Regions from separate parts of the Homo sapiens genome. Here all the other regions are linked to region 1. Evidence: promoter capture Hi-C in 16 types of primary human blood cells and fetal thymus (Javierre and others, 2016). All regions are on one chromosome and are shown on one strand. Each heading gives the region's core, a stretch centred on a gene start or on the middle of the fragment in contact. The rest is flanking DNA. Distances are from core to core; before and after follow the strand shown.

Region 1 (3,166 bases), core at 465-2,964:
GCCAAAATAATTAATCTCTAATAATATAATGTCTATTTCAAGCATCAGTTGCAGGTAGGCAAAGGAGGATGGACTACTTTTTGAGCAAAAAAATGAAGAAACTTTTGGTGCCCCTCAGATCAAAGTGATTAACTGTCCATTCTAGGTGTAAGGCTGGCATTTTTGTGTTATAATCCAGGTAACTCCTAAGCACAATGCCCACCCCAAATTCTAAAAAGTTAGATTTTTTATACCATTTCTAAAATTCATACAACACGGGTCCCTCCTCAGGCCACATGCCACAAAGTGTCCCTTGGCATTCACTCTCAGTTTTTGTTGCTCTTTTCCCTTTGTTAACTGCAAGATAAACATTTCCCAAGCTGAAGGTCTGCCCTTACATTTTTTCTGGTACCGATGTGATGCATTTGGTGATATTTCTAACTCTGTTAGGACTCCCTGGACAACCAGAAAGTTTTATGTTGCTGTAGGATTTAGTCTTGATCCCCCAACTCAAGATTTTACAGAAGGAAACTTATTCTTTAAAAAAGAAAAAAGAAAAAAAGAAGGGAAGGAAGGAAGGAAGGGAGGAAGAGAGAAGGAAGGAAAAGAGGAAGGGGGAGGAAGGGAGAGGGAAGGAGGGAAGAAGAGAAAGAAGGAAGGAAAGAAGGGGAGGGAGGAATGAAGGGAGAGAAGAAGGAAGGAAGGAAGGAAGGAAGGAAGGAAGGAAGGAAGGAAGGAAGGAAGGAAGGAAGGAAGGGAGGGAGGGAGGGAAAGAAAGGGGCAAGATAGGGGGAGGATGCCCTAAACCTCCACCTGCTGATTTTGGTTTAAGGAAAAAAATTAGCTCACTAAAGTCTTTCCTGGGGTTAATGGGAAATGTGGATATAACTAAAACAAAGTTTGAAGGTATGAAATTTTGGAAATAGAATACTACTGGCCCACAGTTGTTCTGGGGCCATTGCCTAGGTTACTCAGGTGTGAACACCTGCATGGGATCAGACTTCCATGGAAAGCGGCTAGAGCATAGGGATGCATAATTTCATTTCAGGTAGTTTTTACAATCTGATGGGAAGCCTGGCTTCACACAGAAAACCACCGTTCGTTAAACATGTACAAAGAAAGACTATGACAAATAGCTCTGAGGGAAATGGCTCCTCATACCAGCTTGTCAAGCCGAGGACTTCTATGAAAGATTGATTTGTCTTTCTAATTACAGCCTGAATCAAGTTAACAGCTTGTATAAGACAACATCAGGAAGCAATAAAAAAAGAATCATGAGAGAAACTAAACGAAAGCTTGGATGAGAGCCTTTGAGCTCAAATCTTGACTTAAAGTATCTCGAAGGCTCTCTTTAACCCTTCTTTCCTTCTTTCCTTCATTCTTTAAATTTTTTTTTTTACTACATATTGCAGTAAAACTAATGTATCTCAATCAGCGTCTCAGCTCCCAGGTGGGCTGTGTCTTTTTTCCCCCCATTACAATCTTTCTTATAAACAAGAGCTGTCAACTACTCACCAAGTAATTCACCGCTCAAATGTCTTCAGTTTACTGCCTGCGCATGCAGACCACTGGCATAGCTACCTCAGTGTGTCCATTTCTTTGCATCCTCTATGCATTCACAATCCTGTCAAGGACTCCAGTCTGTTGACAAATTCCATTAATGGGGTAAATAATTGAAAGCGTTAGTAAATGTTTTGAAAATCACTCTTCAGCATCCGCAGACCAAGACTTGGATTAGGATTTAGAGTGACACTTCTAATCCTTTAAATTGATCCCACCTGTAGCAGAGTTAGTGCTGACCTAAATGCAATGACCCAGAGATTAACAAACAAATAGAGTCCTCTGGATAAATACGTCCTCCACAGACTACTGCCTTCTTTTACCTTTCAAAGTCAGACACAAACTCTCAGATTTTGCCTCTGTGTTCTTCCTTGTTCCATTCTGTCTAATAACCACCAATCGCCCTTTCTCCAGGACAGTTCTAAATGCCAAAACATTCATCAGCTGTGATTCCAGCCCAGAATATAAAAGGTGATCCAGGCTGGCTCCCTGCAAAATTCAAAGCAGGTGAATTTTGTCTCCTTCTCCTATTCCCCTTAAGTGCCTTCACTGCCTTTCCTCCCAAGAGAGACTCCCTACTTCCCTCTACACCTTTGTACAGAGACATTGTTTCCCCATACTTTAGATGTATTCCTTTTCCTTAAGAAGTCCCTCTCTGTCCTGGGCATCATTCACTCAGGGCCCTGTTCTGGATTCCCAACGTGAGAACTGAGGTGTTAAGGGCTAAAAATGACTTATATTAAATGAGAAATGTTTTTTAATAATAGTTTTATTGAGATATAATTTATCTACCACAAAAGTATATAATTTAGGGTTTTTTTAAAGTATATTCACAAGCTTGTGCAACATTTTCATTATTCCCACAAAGAAATTCCATTCTTGTTTAAAAGTCACTCCCCATTTCTCTCCTCCTCCTAGCCCCAGGCCACCACTAATTTACTTTCTCTATGGATTTTCCTATTCTGAACATTTCATATAAATGGAATCATACAACATGTGATCTTTTGCGAGTGGCTTCTTTGTTTGAATGAAAGAAGGACATGGATGAAATTGGAAATCATCATTCTCAGTAAACTATCGCAAGAACAAAAAACCAAACACACTTTGTTTGAAAAACAAACCGTTTTCAAGGTTCATGCACGTTCTAGCCTGTACCAGTACTTCATTTCTTTTGTGGCCAAATAATATTCCACTTTTTTGGGTATACCACATGATCAGTTGATGGAAATTTAGGTTGTTTCCACCTTGGGCTATTATGAATACTGCTTTTATTACTTTTGTGTAAAAGTTTTTATATGGACATATTGTTTTTATTTCTCTTTGGCATATACCCAGGGAATTGCTGGGTCATATAATAACTCTATGTTTAACATTTTTTGAATTGGCAAACTGTTTTCCAAAGTATATGCACCATTTGGCATTCCCACCAGCAACATATGAGGGTTCTTTTTTGCCTACATTCTTACCAACACTTGTTACTATCTATCAGTTTTTTATTTAAGTATGACAGGCATTTTATATGTACATTATACTTATATGTACATCTTTATGTTCACAACAACCATGAAGGTGGATATTACCCATTCTTTCCATTTTGTAAATGAGGATGCCAAGACTGAGATAAATT
Region 2 (3,539 bases), core at 364-2,863, 540 kb after region 1:
GTTATCTTTGTACACTCTCAGAAAAGTGAGGAGTGGTAGTAATAACACTTGTAACATTTTTGAATACACGTTAATTATGCTTTAGGCATGGTGCTTAGTCTACTGCCTGTGTATTACCTCATTTGCAGCCTTCCAGAAAGGTTGTTTTTTGTTTCATGTAATTTTTTGTTTTTTTGAAACAACGTCTTGCTCTGTTGCTCAGGCTGGAGTGTAGTGGTATGAATATGGCTCACTGCAGCCTTGACCCCTTGGGCTCAAGCGATCCTCTTGACTCAGCCTCCCAAGTAGCTGGAACCACAGGCACGCATCACCACGCCCAGCTAATGTTTTTGTTTTTTGTAGAGATGGGGTCTTGCCATGTTGCTTAGGCTGGTCTTGAATTCCTGGGCTCAAGCGATTCTTCTGCATCAGCCTCCCAAAGTGCTGGGATTATAGGAGTGAGCCACCACACCTGGCCTGTTTTATCTAATTCTTCTTTTCTTTGCTTCTAGCTGATTTCCCCTTTGGTAGACTATAGGCACTGGATGTTCTAGCTGTACTTTCTCAGGTTGTTAAAATGGCAGAGTGATACCAAATCAGAGCTGAAAGAAACCTCTGAGAACAACTAATTTGTTTCTTTTTCATCCCTTGTTTTCCAGATGAGCAAACTGAGACCCAGAGAGGTGAAGTGATTTGCCCAAAGTCACACAGCTAAATAGAAGCAGAGCTGAGTCTCCTGACTCCCATTTCAATATCTCTCTATAATACCACACATGGCCTCCTTCTATCCTTAACCTTCCAGCATGAAAGGAACTAGACTTTTCTTCTTGCTCACTATTAGAGAAATGGAAATCTTGTGCTTTTTGAGCATCATTGTTTATTGCCTTCTTGAAAGTGAGGATCTCCTGGCTGCAGGCCACCTCCTTCCTTTCTTTCTTTCTTTCTTTCTTTCTTTCTTTCTTTCTTTCTCTCTCTCTCTCTCTCTTTCTTTCCTTCCCTCCCTCCCTCCCTCCCTCCCTCCCTCCCTCCCTCCCTCCTTCCTTCCTTCCTTCCTTCCTTCCTTCCTTCCTTCCTTCCTTCCTTTCTTTCTTTCATTTTTTTTTTTTTTGAGACGGAGTTTCACTCTTGTTGCCCAGGCTGGAGTACAATGGCATGATCTTGGCTCACCGCAATCTCCGCCTCCTGGGTTCAAGCGATTCTCCTGCCTCAGCCTCCCGAGTAGCTGGGATTACAGGCATGCCCCACCATGCCCGGCTAATTTTGTATTTTTAGTAGAGATGGGGTTTTTCAATGTTGGTCAGGCTGGTCTCGAACTCCTGACCTCAGGTGATCTGTCTGCCTCCACCTCCCAAAGTGCTGGGATTACAGGCGTGAGCCACTGCGCCCGGCCTGCAGGCCACCTCTTTACCTGGCTGGTATAGCAACTGTTTTTTTCAATTTACTTTCCTGCCCTTGCTTCCTGTCTTCCACAGAGGAGTCTGGCCCTGGTGTCACCATTACTTGCTGTTTGCCCTGGACAGACAGTTCACAGGGATGTGTGTGCTCACTGAGCCTGCATGTAGAGCCAGTATGGGTTGCTTGCAGATGTTGGTTGTTTGGAAATGGGACCCACTCAGCTGCGGATATAACTGAGGCCATCATTTCCTGCCTCCAAATAGAGGCCTGCATCTAATCCTAGTAAACAGTTGTATGGGGCTCCAGGGCAAGGGATCAAAATTAGAACCTTAGTCTAGCAGAGGTGACAAAGGCCAAAGAAGAAAAACGTCAGAATAATCTGTCAGCCCAGTAGTAGAGGTTAGTTCATCTTGGTTGAGTAGTAGAAACAGCACTGGATTAAGGGTTAGCCAGACCTGGGTCCTGGTTGTAGGTTCATCACTAGCTGGTTGACAAAACTGAGTAATTTTGGCCATTCAGGTAGCCTCTCTGTGCCTCAGTCTTCTTATATAATAAGAAATAGAGTGTGGTAGTTAAAAGTGCAGGCTCTGGAGCCAGACTAGTCAGGTTCAAATCCCAGTTCTGCTGCTTTCTAGCTGTGCAACTCTGGGAAAGTTAATTGACATATCTAGGCATGGTTTTTGATTTGTTTTGTTTTATTTTGTTTGAGGTCTTCCAAGTTCATTATTTTTCTTGTTTATTGCTAGACCAGTATACCTAAAGCCTCTGGGTCTGTTTTCTTATCTGCAAAATGGGGATTAATAGTAGTATCTACTTTATGGGGTTCTTGTAAGAATTAAATGCATGACTACATGTGAAGTGTTTAGAATAGTGGTGCATGGCAAGTGTTTAATAAATATGAGTATGGCTGTTATCATCTGTAAGACAGAGATGATCTTTGCCCTTCTTACCTTATAGGGTAAATATGAGAATCAAGTCAAATAAGGTATGTGAATGTGCTGTGAATATATGAATGTGCTGTGAATATAAGAAAGTGCTATCAAAATGAGAACAATCATCATGTCTTGAGAGCAGGAACATTTAAACATTCCCTAGGCCACCTGTTTCTAGAATCAGATATTGATGTTATTTCCTTGGTAGCCTGGCAAAAGGGAGAAAGGTAGGTTTGTATGTAGGGTTATATAAATGCTGGGGCCATCAAGCAATGTAGATCCTGCTTTTTTCTTCCCAGTGTACTCAAGAGGGCTTGAAAGCCATGCATCCTAAGTAAAGTGGTTGGGGGATTTGGAATGAAACAGTATCATCTGCCATGATACTGTTCCTTCAGTACTCTTATCTTATTTAACAGCATCACAATCCATCCAGTGACCCAGGTTAAATCCCTAGAAACCTTGATACATCTCAATTCCACCCTCTTCCTCCTTTTCATCATCATAGTCTCAGTCATCTTGATTCTGCCTTTCATGATCTCTTCCATTTCTCTTCCTTTTCTTCTTTGATTCCCCTGCCCTGGTTCATGTTGTTGTTTATCACTGTCATCATCATCACCTGTCTTGTTAGAGCAGCCTTGTGATTGATCTTCTCTCCTCTATCCTTTACACTACTCTATCCTTTACTCTATCTACTACTCGACCCTTTACACTACTGCCAGAATGATACAAGTAAAATACATGTTGGATCATGCCATTCCCTTCCTCCAAAACCTTTGATAACTCCTTAATGCCTTCATCAGGGATGGTAAACACATAGATGCATACACTTTATATTGTCCCTGGCCGACTGTGCTAATCAATCATAGGCACGCTTTCCCAGGGAGAGTCCAAGTAGATTTAAAATCTGTTTAGCATAGCATTCTAGGTAGCCACTTATCAATCAGTCAGAGCTGGTATTAATATATAGACTAGGGATGGCACATAGATAAAGCCTGTAGAGAAATCTTAATCTCCTTATGATAGGATTCGGTATCTTCTGTGATTTTGGTCCCAACCTTTTTTTTCAGCCTTGTTATTTAGTATATTCTTCCATGTGTTCTCTGATCCAGCCACCAGCACCATGCACTTCCATTCTTCTCTGAGTTTATACTTTGTTTATGCTGCACTGTTAGACAGAAATATTCTTTCTTTTCTCTTCCTGTTGAAATGCTAGTTATCATTCAAGGCTCAGCC
Region 3 (3,494 bases), core at 519-3,018, 770 kb before region 1:
CAGTTTAGTGGTATTAAATATATTCAGAATGTTGTGCAACCATCACCACATCCATCTACATAACTGTTTTATCTTATAAAACTGAAATTCTATACCCATTAAACAATAACTCTCCATTTTCCGCTCCCTCCAGCCCCTAGCAGCCACCATTCTACCTTCTTTCTGTATGATTTTGACTACTTTAAGTAACTCATAGATGGAATCATGCAGTATTTGTGGTTTTGTGACCGGTTTATTTCACTTAGCCTAATGTCCTCAAGGTTCATCAATGTTGCAGCATATTTCAAAATGTTCTTCCTTTTTAAGGCTGAATAATATTCAATTGTATTTATATTCTACATTTGCTTATCCATTCATCTGTTGATGAACACTTGGGTTGCTTCAATGTTTTAACTATTGTGAATAATATTCCTATTAACATGGCTGTCCAAATACCTCTTTGAGAGCCTGCTGTGAATTCTTTTGGGTATATAACAAGACATGAAATTGCTGAATCTTACAGTAATTCTGCTTTTATAAGTTTGAGGAAACACTATACTGTTTTCCACAATGGCTGTACTATTTTGCGTTCACATCAATAGTGTACAAGGGTTCCGACCTCTCTACGTCATCACCAACACTTATTATTTTCTGATTATTTTCATAGTTACCATCCTAAGAGATGTAAGGTGTTATCTCATTGCAGTTTTGATTTACATTTCCCTAATGATTAGTGATGTTGAGACTCTTTTTAAGTGCTTATTAGCCATTTGTATATCTTTGGAGAAATGGTCTTTTTTACTTTTGACAGTTTAATTATAACGTATCTCGCTGAGGTTGTCTTTGAGTTATTCCTACTTGGAGTTGAGCTTCTTGGATGTATATATTAATGTAGTCCATCAAATTTGGGTAGATTTTGGCTATTATTTCTTCAAATGTTCTTTCTGCCCCTGTATACTCTCCTTTCCTTCTGGTACTTCCATTATATGCATGTTTGTATGCTTGATGGTGCCCCATATTTCTCAGAGGGTCTGCTCACTTTTAAAAAAATTATTTTACCTTTCTGTTTATCAGACTAGATAAACTCATTGGGCCTATCTTCAAAGGTACTGATTCCTTCTTTTGCCAGTCCAAATCTATTGTTGAGCCCCTCTAGTACATTTTTTATTTCAGTACTTTTCAACTCCAGAATTTCTGCTTAGTTCTTTTTATAATTTCTCTCTGTATCAATATTGTCTATTTGGTGAGAGATCCTTCCCAGACTTTTCTTTAGTCCTATAAACATGGTCTCCTTTTGTTCTTTGAGCATACTTGAAATAGCTAATTCAAAAGTCTTTGTCTAGTAAGTCTAAGGTCAAAGCTTCCTCAAGAACACTTTCTATTGATTGCTCCTTTTCCTGTGTGTCAGCCGTAATTCCTTGTTGGTTTTTTTTTTTTTTTTTTTTTTTACTTCTCATACTTTTTATTCACAATTGGACATTTAAAATAATATAATCTGGCAACTTTGGAAACCAGATTCCACCACTACCCCCAACTCCCAGAGTTTGTTGTTGTTGCTATTTTTTGTTGTCTTTTGTTTGTTTAATGGTGTTTCTGTACTAATTTTGTAAAATCTGAATTGTTATGTGTAGCCACTAAAGTCTTTGCTCAGTTAAATTGGTTTCCAGCTAATTATTTTAGAGAGATTTCCCTAAATGACTAGGATTAATAAATCTCCCAGTCATTTCTGAGTGGTTCTGTGTGCTCATTAGGACACATTTTCAACATTCAGCTAGGCAGTTTTTAGCTCTGCCTTAGTCTTCACTCCTTGCTTATATAGAAGCCTCAAGATTAGGCAGTGATGAGAGATTTGGGCCTTCTCATGCCTCTCCTGAGCCTGTACATAGCCCTGGGCATTATCATATCACTACACCTGTACTTTTTCTTCTAGGTTCTTCAAACTATTTTATAACTTTTCAAAGTCTCCTATGGGCATCTCATTCTCCCTCCCATTTTCTTTTTCAGATTTTTAGTTAGCCTAATGTTTTCCCCAACTGTCATTCACCACCTCAGGCAGCTGCAATATTAAACAATTGCCACTGAGTGTTTTCAACAAATGCCCCCAAAGAAAATTTGTTTGCATGGGCAGAGCTCTGTGTCAGGGCAAATAATGACAAGCCTTGTGATTAGGGTGTCCACAGAATCACCAGACAGGTCAATAATGGCCGTTCTCTGGGAATGAAGCTTTCAAAATGCTCCAACCCTTTTCTGCTCCCTCCAGTGGCTACCAGGTGAGTGACTTTCATCATGATTATGATTGAGGGCTATTAGTTTACTAGGCTACTATAGAGCTTGGGGAGAGGGAGATGGGAATAGAGCAAGTTAAAATACTAGGAATCTCACTGTTCTTATTGAGATGCAGACATTTTTCTTAAATAAACACTCCCCAGATTGCTACAAGGCTTTTGTTAATTTTCAGAGTTCTTAAAGAGTTGATTCTGAAAATTTTTTCAGTGTTCTCTTTGCTTTTATGGAGAAATGAATTTTCAGAGTTTCTTAGAGCACCATTTCCACTAATGCCCTCATTTAAATAATAAGAAATAAATAATAAAAATAGTTTATATATAGTTTACATTTTCAATGCTCTTCATTTCTTTGTATAAATCTATATTTCCATGTTGTATTATTTTCCATGTATGAGAGAATTCCTTTGACATTTCTTTACTTTTTCTTTTTCTAAAAAAATTTTGTGAGTACATAGTAGATGTATATATTTATGGAGTATATAAGTTGTTTTGACACATGCGTGCAATACGAATTAAGTACATAATAAAGAATAGGGTATCCATTCCCACAAGCATTTATCCACTGAATTGCAAACAATCCAAGTACACTCTTTAAGTTCTCTAAAATGTACAGTTAAGTTATTATTGACTGTAGTCAGTAAATCAATTGACTACAGTCAATAATAAATCAATTGACTATAGTAGTGCTGTCAAATATTAGGTCTTTTCATTTTTTTTTAACTTTTTTATACTCATTAACCATCCCCACTCCCTCCTCCCCCAACCTTTCACTATCCTTCCCAGCCTCTGATAACCCTCATTCTACTCTCTATGTCCATGAGTTGAATTGTTTTGATTTTTAGATTCCACAAATAAGTGGAAACATGCTATGTTAGTCTTTCTGTCCCTGGCTTATTTCACTTAATGATTGCTAGTTCCATCCATGTTGTTGCAAATGACTGGATCTCATTCTTTTTATGGCTGAATAGTACTCCATTGTGTATATGTACCATATTTTCTTTATCCGTGCATTTGTTGATAGACACTTAGGTTGCTTCCAAATCTTAGCTATTGTAAACAGTGCTACAACAAACAGGAGTACAGAAATCTCTTTCATATACTGATTTCCTTTCTTTTGGGTACATACCCAGCAGTGCATATTTGCTGAATCATTTGGTAGTTCAATGTACAGTTTTTTGAGAAAACTCCAAATTGTTATAGTGGTTGCACTAATTTACATTTCCAACAAGA
Region 4 (3,096 bases), core at 160-2,659, 790 kb before region 1:
CTCTTGTGAGGTACAATTCTTGGCCTAAAGCAGATCATTTCAAAAAGGCCACATTTACTTTTAGTTAGATTAGTTATTAAGGGAACAGTTTCCCTGGGCTCTTTGCAGTATAGCAGCTGCTTGAGTGTGCAGTGTTTATAATTCCTGGGAGATACTTACCTCATCTTTGAAACTGGTCTTCATCAAGTTCATAAGTTCTGAAGAGAATCTTGGTTCATAGATCAAAGAAAGTAAGGTCATTGCTTAATTATGCTAGTTTGTAGTTCCTAAAATAAGTGCCTTAGCTTTATAAAGTATTGCTGGAGTCATTTAAAGCTATATAAAGTATGACATTTCTGTACAAAATCCAGTTCATTTAAGGTGTTCCCATGTATCTTCTCTATACTGGGGTGGACAGCTAGGTTGATGGGATGAGGGGACTAAATCACTCTCAAGGACTCTTCCATCCCCATGAATTCTTTTCCTGGAATTCTGACTTTGGATGTTGAAGTCCCATTGTCTTACCTGGGGCTGCATTTTGTTGTTGTTGTTGTTGTTGTGTTGTTTTTTTTTTTGATACGGAGCCTCGCTCTGTCGCCCAGGCTGGAGTGCAATGGCGTGGTCTCAGCTCACTGCTACCTCTGCCTCCCAGGTTCAAGCAATTCTTCTGCCTCAGCCTCCGAAGTAGCTGGGAATTACAGGCGCCCGCCAGCATGCCTGGCTAATTTTTGTATTTTTAGTAGAGACGGGGTTTCACCATGTTGGCCAGGCTGGTCTCGAAATGTTGACCTCGTGATCTGCCCACCTCTGCCTCCCAAAGTGTTGGGATTACAGGCGTGAGCCACCGCACCTGGCAGGGCTGCCTATTTTAAGACTGACTATCCCCTTTGCCTCCATAAAGACATTTAAGAAGATAGTCTGGGCTCCCAGTTTCTGGGATCTCTATGATGAGAAGCTTCCTGAGATCTCATTGTCTGGGCCATTCATTCTGTGGAAATGTTTCTGCAGCAGCAGAGACCCCGGAGGTCAGCTTTACTCCCTATTTTTCCAAGGCATATGGCCACACCAGTTCTGGCCCACCAGGGTAAGGATATTCACTTACATGTAAGTCAGTGGTCATAGGCCATTTTATGAAACCAAATAATGTAAGGGTTTGCCCAATAGCTTTCTTTTCCATCTTCTTTTTTTCTTCCGTTTATATTTCCTTTTTCTCCTTTTCAACTTTCCTCTGCTACTTTTCTTTCTCCTTTTCACTTGGTTACATCTTTTTAAATTTTATAATTGACCAATCTTCATTAAATTAGTAATTAAATTATCTTTCCATAATTTAATCGAATAATAAATATCTAAATAATTAATTTAATTTAATATCTTCAGGTAATTTTCTCTAGTCTTTCTCCTATAAATTTCTTTTTTGTTCATTCTCTCTACACTGTCAGACTTATAATCAAACTTTAAACTTCAAATCCCTAACCTACCAGGTCAACAGAGGAACCATTATAAGTTTTGAGCACTACGAATTCAAAAATGTAATGCAGTTAGAAGATGGAATCTGCTATCAGCATGTAATTATAACTTTTCAGAATCCATGTATTTTCTCTAATAAGAACAATCAGATTTGGAATCTATAAACTGGCCCTGACTCTGGTACAGTTTAGGCCTCAGACACAGGAAGGCCATGACGGAGCCCAAGATCCTAGGAATGGTCCTGGATTGCAGAGGCTCTGCTGGGGCTCACACAAGGATCACATTGGAAGTATCTTGATGACTAAGCAAAGATACAGGCAGCTGTCACTTTGATGTTAAAGAAACAATTACCTCCTGATCGAATAAATGCAGTCTGTGTTGAATTAGTGGAAGGATTATAGGATGTAAGAAAGAAGACAGAGAAGATGGATTAAATACTAAAGCTTTTCTGTCTGGGAGAAAAGAAAAACATACTGAGAACCATTAGTCTATTAAAGTCTTATAACTATGGGGTATAGAGGGCATTGGGAGTATATGGGATCACTCTCTCTTCGAAAATTTGGAGACTATAACCCAGAATTCTGCATCATTGTGGGCAGCCACAGGTGCAACCAGATACTCCAGATACTTCCATCATTATGGGCCTTCCTTTTATTTACCTTTCTTTTCCTTACGAGACTGGATATTTTCAGCTCTGTCCCAAATTAGGCAGTAGAATAGGTTTTTTTAAATTACTTTATAATGTACAAAGCACTTTCATGTCCATTGTCTAATTTAATTTACACAACTATGATTAAGAAAAATGTATATAAATATTCTGCTTTTTCATTTTATACACAAAGAGACTGGCTAATAGGTTAAATAACTTACAGTTAGAAAGTGATGGAGGTAACACCTGCCAATTCTAAATCCATTTCTTTTTAAATTTTCCCATGTTGTTCACTCTTACATGACTGTGAGTCAGTCAGGTTTTTCTTAACGAGTTTTTGAAAGGGATAAATTAGACTAAATCAATGATTTTCAACCTAGGGAATTTTTTAAGACTCCTAGTCTTATGCCAAATCCATTGTATAAAAATTCCAAATAATTCTGATAATACAGGTTTAAGATCTATTGGTCTTTTATCAGTCATCTTCAGTCTGAGATAAGCATACCCCTTTGAATATATGAAGAATTTCCATGATGCACAGAGGCATTATTTTTTAAAAATCAAATTTCAACTCCTCGACTTTTATATGTATTTTCTCCTAAAGTCAATCTGACTTTAGCAGATGTGCTTTGGGCAATCTCCTTTCCCATGTCTCCTTTGTCTCCTTTCACTGTCATGCATTCCCCACTTTGTAAGAGTCATACTCTTGCACATTGCCTTGAAGTATGAAAACCTCTGACAGACAAATTCAAAGGGATAATTCAAAATAACAGCTTTGCTAAAGATACAATTACCGTTAGATCCAGCAATCCCATTACTGGATATTTACCCAAAGGAAAATAGTATATCAAAGAGATAGTTACACTGACATGTTTATTGTAGCACTATTCACAATAGCAAAGATATGGAATCAACCTAAGTATCCAACAAAGGATGAATGGATAAAGAAGATGTGGTATATATACACAATGGAATATTATTCAGCCATATAAAAAATGAAA
Region 5 (3,470 bases), core at 971-3,470, 900 kb before region 1:
CTTCCTAACTAACAAATGTATGTTGTTGCCCTATCATTTCTTTGTATCCTATAGGGTAAACCAGGCAAAGATGGAGAAAATGGCCAACCAGGAATTCCTGTAAGTAGCTAAGGTTCTTTCCCCCTGCAAAACTGGAGACATTTATGTGTTGGTATAACATAAGGTGGCAGAGAAGCAGTATGACAAAAATTGTGGGGTCTGGAAATAGTTTAAATGAATTGAAATTATCCAGTCTTTGTCTTTTGAATATAATTTTCAATTTTTAAAAAATTTTGTGAGTACATAGTAGGTGTATATATTTATTTATGAGGTACATGAGATGTTTTGATACATGTATGTAATGTGAAATAAGGACATCACAGAGAATGGGGTATTCATCCCCTCAAGCATTTATCCTTTGCATTACAAACAATCCAGTTACACCAAATATAAATTTGAGGTTCCTCTATTTTTTAAAGTCAGATTTATTGAGATATAATTTACATAAAGTAAAAGGAACTATTTTTAGTTTACAGTTCTGTGTTTGACAAACACATACAGTTGTGTCACCACCACCATAATCAAGAACACTTCCATCACCTTCAAAAGTTCCCTCATGCTCTTTTTTAGTTATCCCCTCCCTATTCCCCTATCCCAACCCCCTTATAACGACTGATCTTTTGTCAATCTCTTTAATTTTGCCTATTCCCAAATGTCAGATACATTGGATCATATTGTATGTAGCCTTTCGAATCAGGATCCTTTCACATAACATAATACATTGAATTGTGTATCAGTTCATTTTTTTATTGCTGAGTAGTATTTGATAGTTTGAATATACCATGGTTTGTTTGTCCATTTACACATTGAAGGATATTTTGGTTATTTCTGTGTTTTGGCCATTATGAATAAAACTTTTATATTCATATAAAAATATTTATATGAATATAAATATTCCCATACAGTTTTTTTGTGTGTGTGTGAACATGTTTTTTCAGTAAAAGTTTTGACAGGTAATTCTTCTACTTACTACCAAAAAGGGGCATGGGAAATAAAATATGTAAGTCCAAGAACATTATTTCAAGCAGCTTCAGTATCAAGAGTATCCGCAGTAGGCAAGAGTTTTTCAAAGACAGAGAGAATATTTGATGAAATTTGTAAGTTATTCTAAGGGAAAAGGATAATTCTTAACAAGACAGGTTAGAATTACTAAATTCAGATAAATTGGTTTCAGGATATTTTACTAAACAGGCAATCCTCAACTTACAATCTCTAGTTCAAAAATATTTTATATTATAAAATATCAAGAGGTAAATTCAGGGCCTCAGTTCCTGGCTTCTTTTGGAACAATTGGTCTTTGTCTTGATTCAGGCAGCTGTGATATTCAACAATTGCCTCTTAGTGTTTTCAACAAATTGGGGTTGCGGGGTGGGGAGGCTGTTCTCTTGTTCTCTGTTTGCACTGGGAGAACCCAAGTTGGGTCAAATAAAGGCAGCCTTGCAAATAGCCTTCTTTTGAACCAGCAGACAGATCAAATAATGATAATTCTCTGGATATGGGGCTTTGAAGGAGCTCCAACCCTGTTCTTTCCTCTCCAATTGCTGCTAGGCTGCTGGTTTTCACCTTGATTGTGAGGAGAGGTGGTGTGAATAGAGCAAGTTAAAATGCCACAAAGCTCTGAGAGGTGGTGGGAATAGAGCAAGTTAAAATGCCATAAATCTCTGAGAGGTGGTAGGAATAGAGCAAGTTAAAATGCCACAAAGCTCTGAGTTCTCACCAAGATTCAGCTTTTTTTTTTTTTTTTTTTCTGAGAAAACACTCCTTGAATTGCTGCAAGCTTTGGTTAAGTTCTGAAAGTTAATTCTGACTGACCATTTTTGCCAGTATTCTCATTGCTTCTATGGAGAAGACAATCTTTGGAGATTTCCTAACACCATCATTTGTGCTGATGTCACCCTATCCTCTATGTTTTAAAGGGTTTGCCTGGTGATCCTGGTTACCCTGGTGAACCCGGAAGGGATGGTGAAAAGGTAAGAATTTTAATACTTTGAAGTGACTGGTTTAGTCTAGCTAAAATAATCCTTTTCTTCTCCCAGGCTTGAGTTATAAATGGAAAAAGTCTACATAACTAGCTTTTATATTCAAAATATGCCTTCTTTATTCATCTTTTGCTCATTTTTCTTTTATACCACACTTGCTAAATTTTATTCCATTGCCATAAATCACAGTCCATGTTGCAGAAATACATTAAGCATTGTTTAACTTTAGCATTTCCACTGTGAAAAGTCATTGCCTTTACTTTGAGCATGTATCGGCAAAACTTCTTTTTTTCCACAAAGAGAATTCAGCACTATTTTAGTGAGGTCCTCTTACTAAAAAGGCTTATAACTGTGAATGTAGAACGTCGCCACTAAACATTTCCATTCTGTATGCAATTATTGTCTGTAAGTCTGTGGCTAATTCTTTGTTGTTTTTTCCCCCCTACTGGGCCAATGCAGTCTGACTGAGGTCATTTATTTAGTTACCTATTTTTCAAGTGACTTTGAAAGATTGTATGAAGCATACAATTACCAGATTTTTAGCAGGGCACAAAATAACCAGTCCTCCAATCCCTCTTGTTTTTAATTGCTTCGTATCAAAAACTGAAAGCTTTTTGGTTTTTCAGGCAAGGAAGGAAAGGCGTTACAAACTTGAATGTACCCAGAAGGCACATATTTTAATGGTGGTTTATTTTTAAATTAGGTCCAAGTTCTAGCATGGCTTAAAAGGCACAATTAGAATAGATGGAGGTAGGAAATACTCCGATAAAATGATTTTTTGTCAAATAGTATTTGTATATAGATGGATGGCTTCTATGAACAAGTTTAGAGTCAGAATAGAAGTATGAAAAAGACCATCCTTGTGTCTTGGCCAGTAGTAGAGTAACACTTGAATATTGAATATTGTGGTTTTTTTCATGCTGTTGTAGCTACTAATCAAGGATAAAAGTTTTATCTGAACTTGTCTTTCATTAGCTTCTAAGAGCAAGCTCATGAAAGCAATTCAGATTTACTAGCTATTATTGATGATAGTTAAGTCCATCACATCTAAAATGTCTGTCACTAATAGAAATGGCACTACATTTATGTCCTTGACTAGTTTTATGAGAAGAAACATGGCTAAATGTAAAAAAAAAAAAAAAAAAAAAAGTAATTTTTTCACTGATTCTAGTGCTACCATTTTTTTTCTATTATCTTCTTTATAGAGTATTTGTAGTTGGCTAGAAATAGGAATCTTAAAAATCAAAGAATATTACAACTAGAAATACCTTAAAACTCTGGTCCAAAAATCTTTATTCTTTCTATATAAACCAGAGAAGTTAATTAACTTGGTGAAGATTACATAGCTAGTAAATCTGAGACACCATCACAGGTTAGGCTTAGCTCAGAATTGTTTCATTACTTCATGTTGCATTTCTCATTTGAGGTATTTTATGATTGATTTCTGGGTCT

The links. The method cuts DNA at HindIII sites, captures the fragments that hold promoters and counts their contacts. A CHiCAGO score of 5 or more calls a contact.
Region 2: a fragment that was not itself captured here is called in contact with the fragment with the promoter of GUCY2F in region 1 in 1 of 17 cell types (neutrophils); the score reaches 5.1 in neutrophils.
Region 3: a contact is called between a fragment that was not itself captured here and the fragment with the promoter of GUCY2F in region 1, in 2 of 17 cell types (M0 macrophages and M1 macrophages). The highest score is 9.1, in M0 macrophages.
Region 4: a fragment that was not itself captured here is called in contact with the fragment with the promoter of GUCY2F in region 1 in 2 of 17 cell types (M0 macrophages and M1 macrophages); the score reaches 6.5 in M0 macrophages.
Region 5: a contact is called between a fragment that was not itself captured here and the fragment with the promoter of GUCY2F in region 1, in 1 of 17 cell types (M0 macrophages). The highest score is 5.3, in M0 macrophages.

Annotation. Positions count from the first base shown.
Region 1 is chrX:109,480,372-109,483,537 of GRCh38, forward strand. It overlaps GUCY2F (guanylate cyclase 2F, retinal), which reads right to left and starts at 1,715. Exons shown (of 20, transcript NM_001522.3): 1 at 1,495-1,715. The HindIII fragment of the contact is 1,102 bases long and covers 1,273-2,374 here.
Region 2 is chrX:110,016,500-110,020,038 of GRCh38, forward strand. All of the region lies in intron 2 of TMEM164 (transmembrane protein 164), which reads left to right. Among named protein-coding and RNA genes, the nearest start is that of TMEM164, 15 kb to the left of the region's middle. The HindIII fragment of the contact is 7,123 bases long and covers 1-3,539 here.
Region 3 is chrX:108,710,857-108,714,350 of GRCh38, forward strand. No RefSeq gene overlaps it. Among named protein-coding and RNA genes, the nearest start is that of IRS4-AS1, 24 kb to the right of the region's middle. The HindIII fragment of the contact is 863 bases long and covers 1,338-2,200 here.
Region 4 is chrX:108,687,900-108,690,995 of GRCh38, forward strand. All of the region lies in intron 49 of COL4A5 (collagen type IV alpha 5 chain), which reads left to right. Among named protein-coding and RNA genes, the nearest start is that of IRS4-AS1, 47 kb to the right of the region's middle. The HindIII fragment of the contact is 955 bases long and covers 933-1,887 here.
Region 5 is chrX:108,580,929-108,584,398 of GRCh38, forward strand. It overlaps COL4A5 (collagen type IV alpha 5 chain), which reads left to right. Exons shown (of 53, transcript NM_033380.3): 16 at 55-99; 17 at 1,956-2,009. Among named protein-coding and RNA genes, the nearest start is that of COL4A5, 140 kb to the left of the region's middle. The HindIII fragment of the contact is 812 bases long and covers 1,815-2,626 here.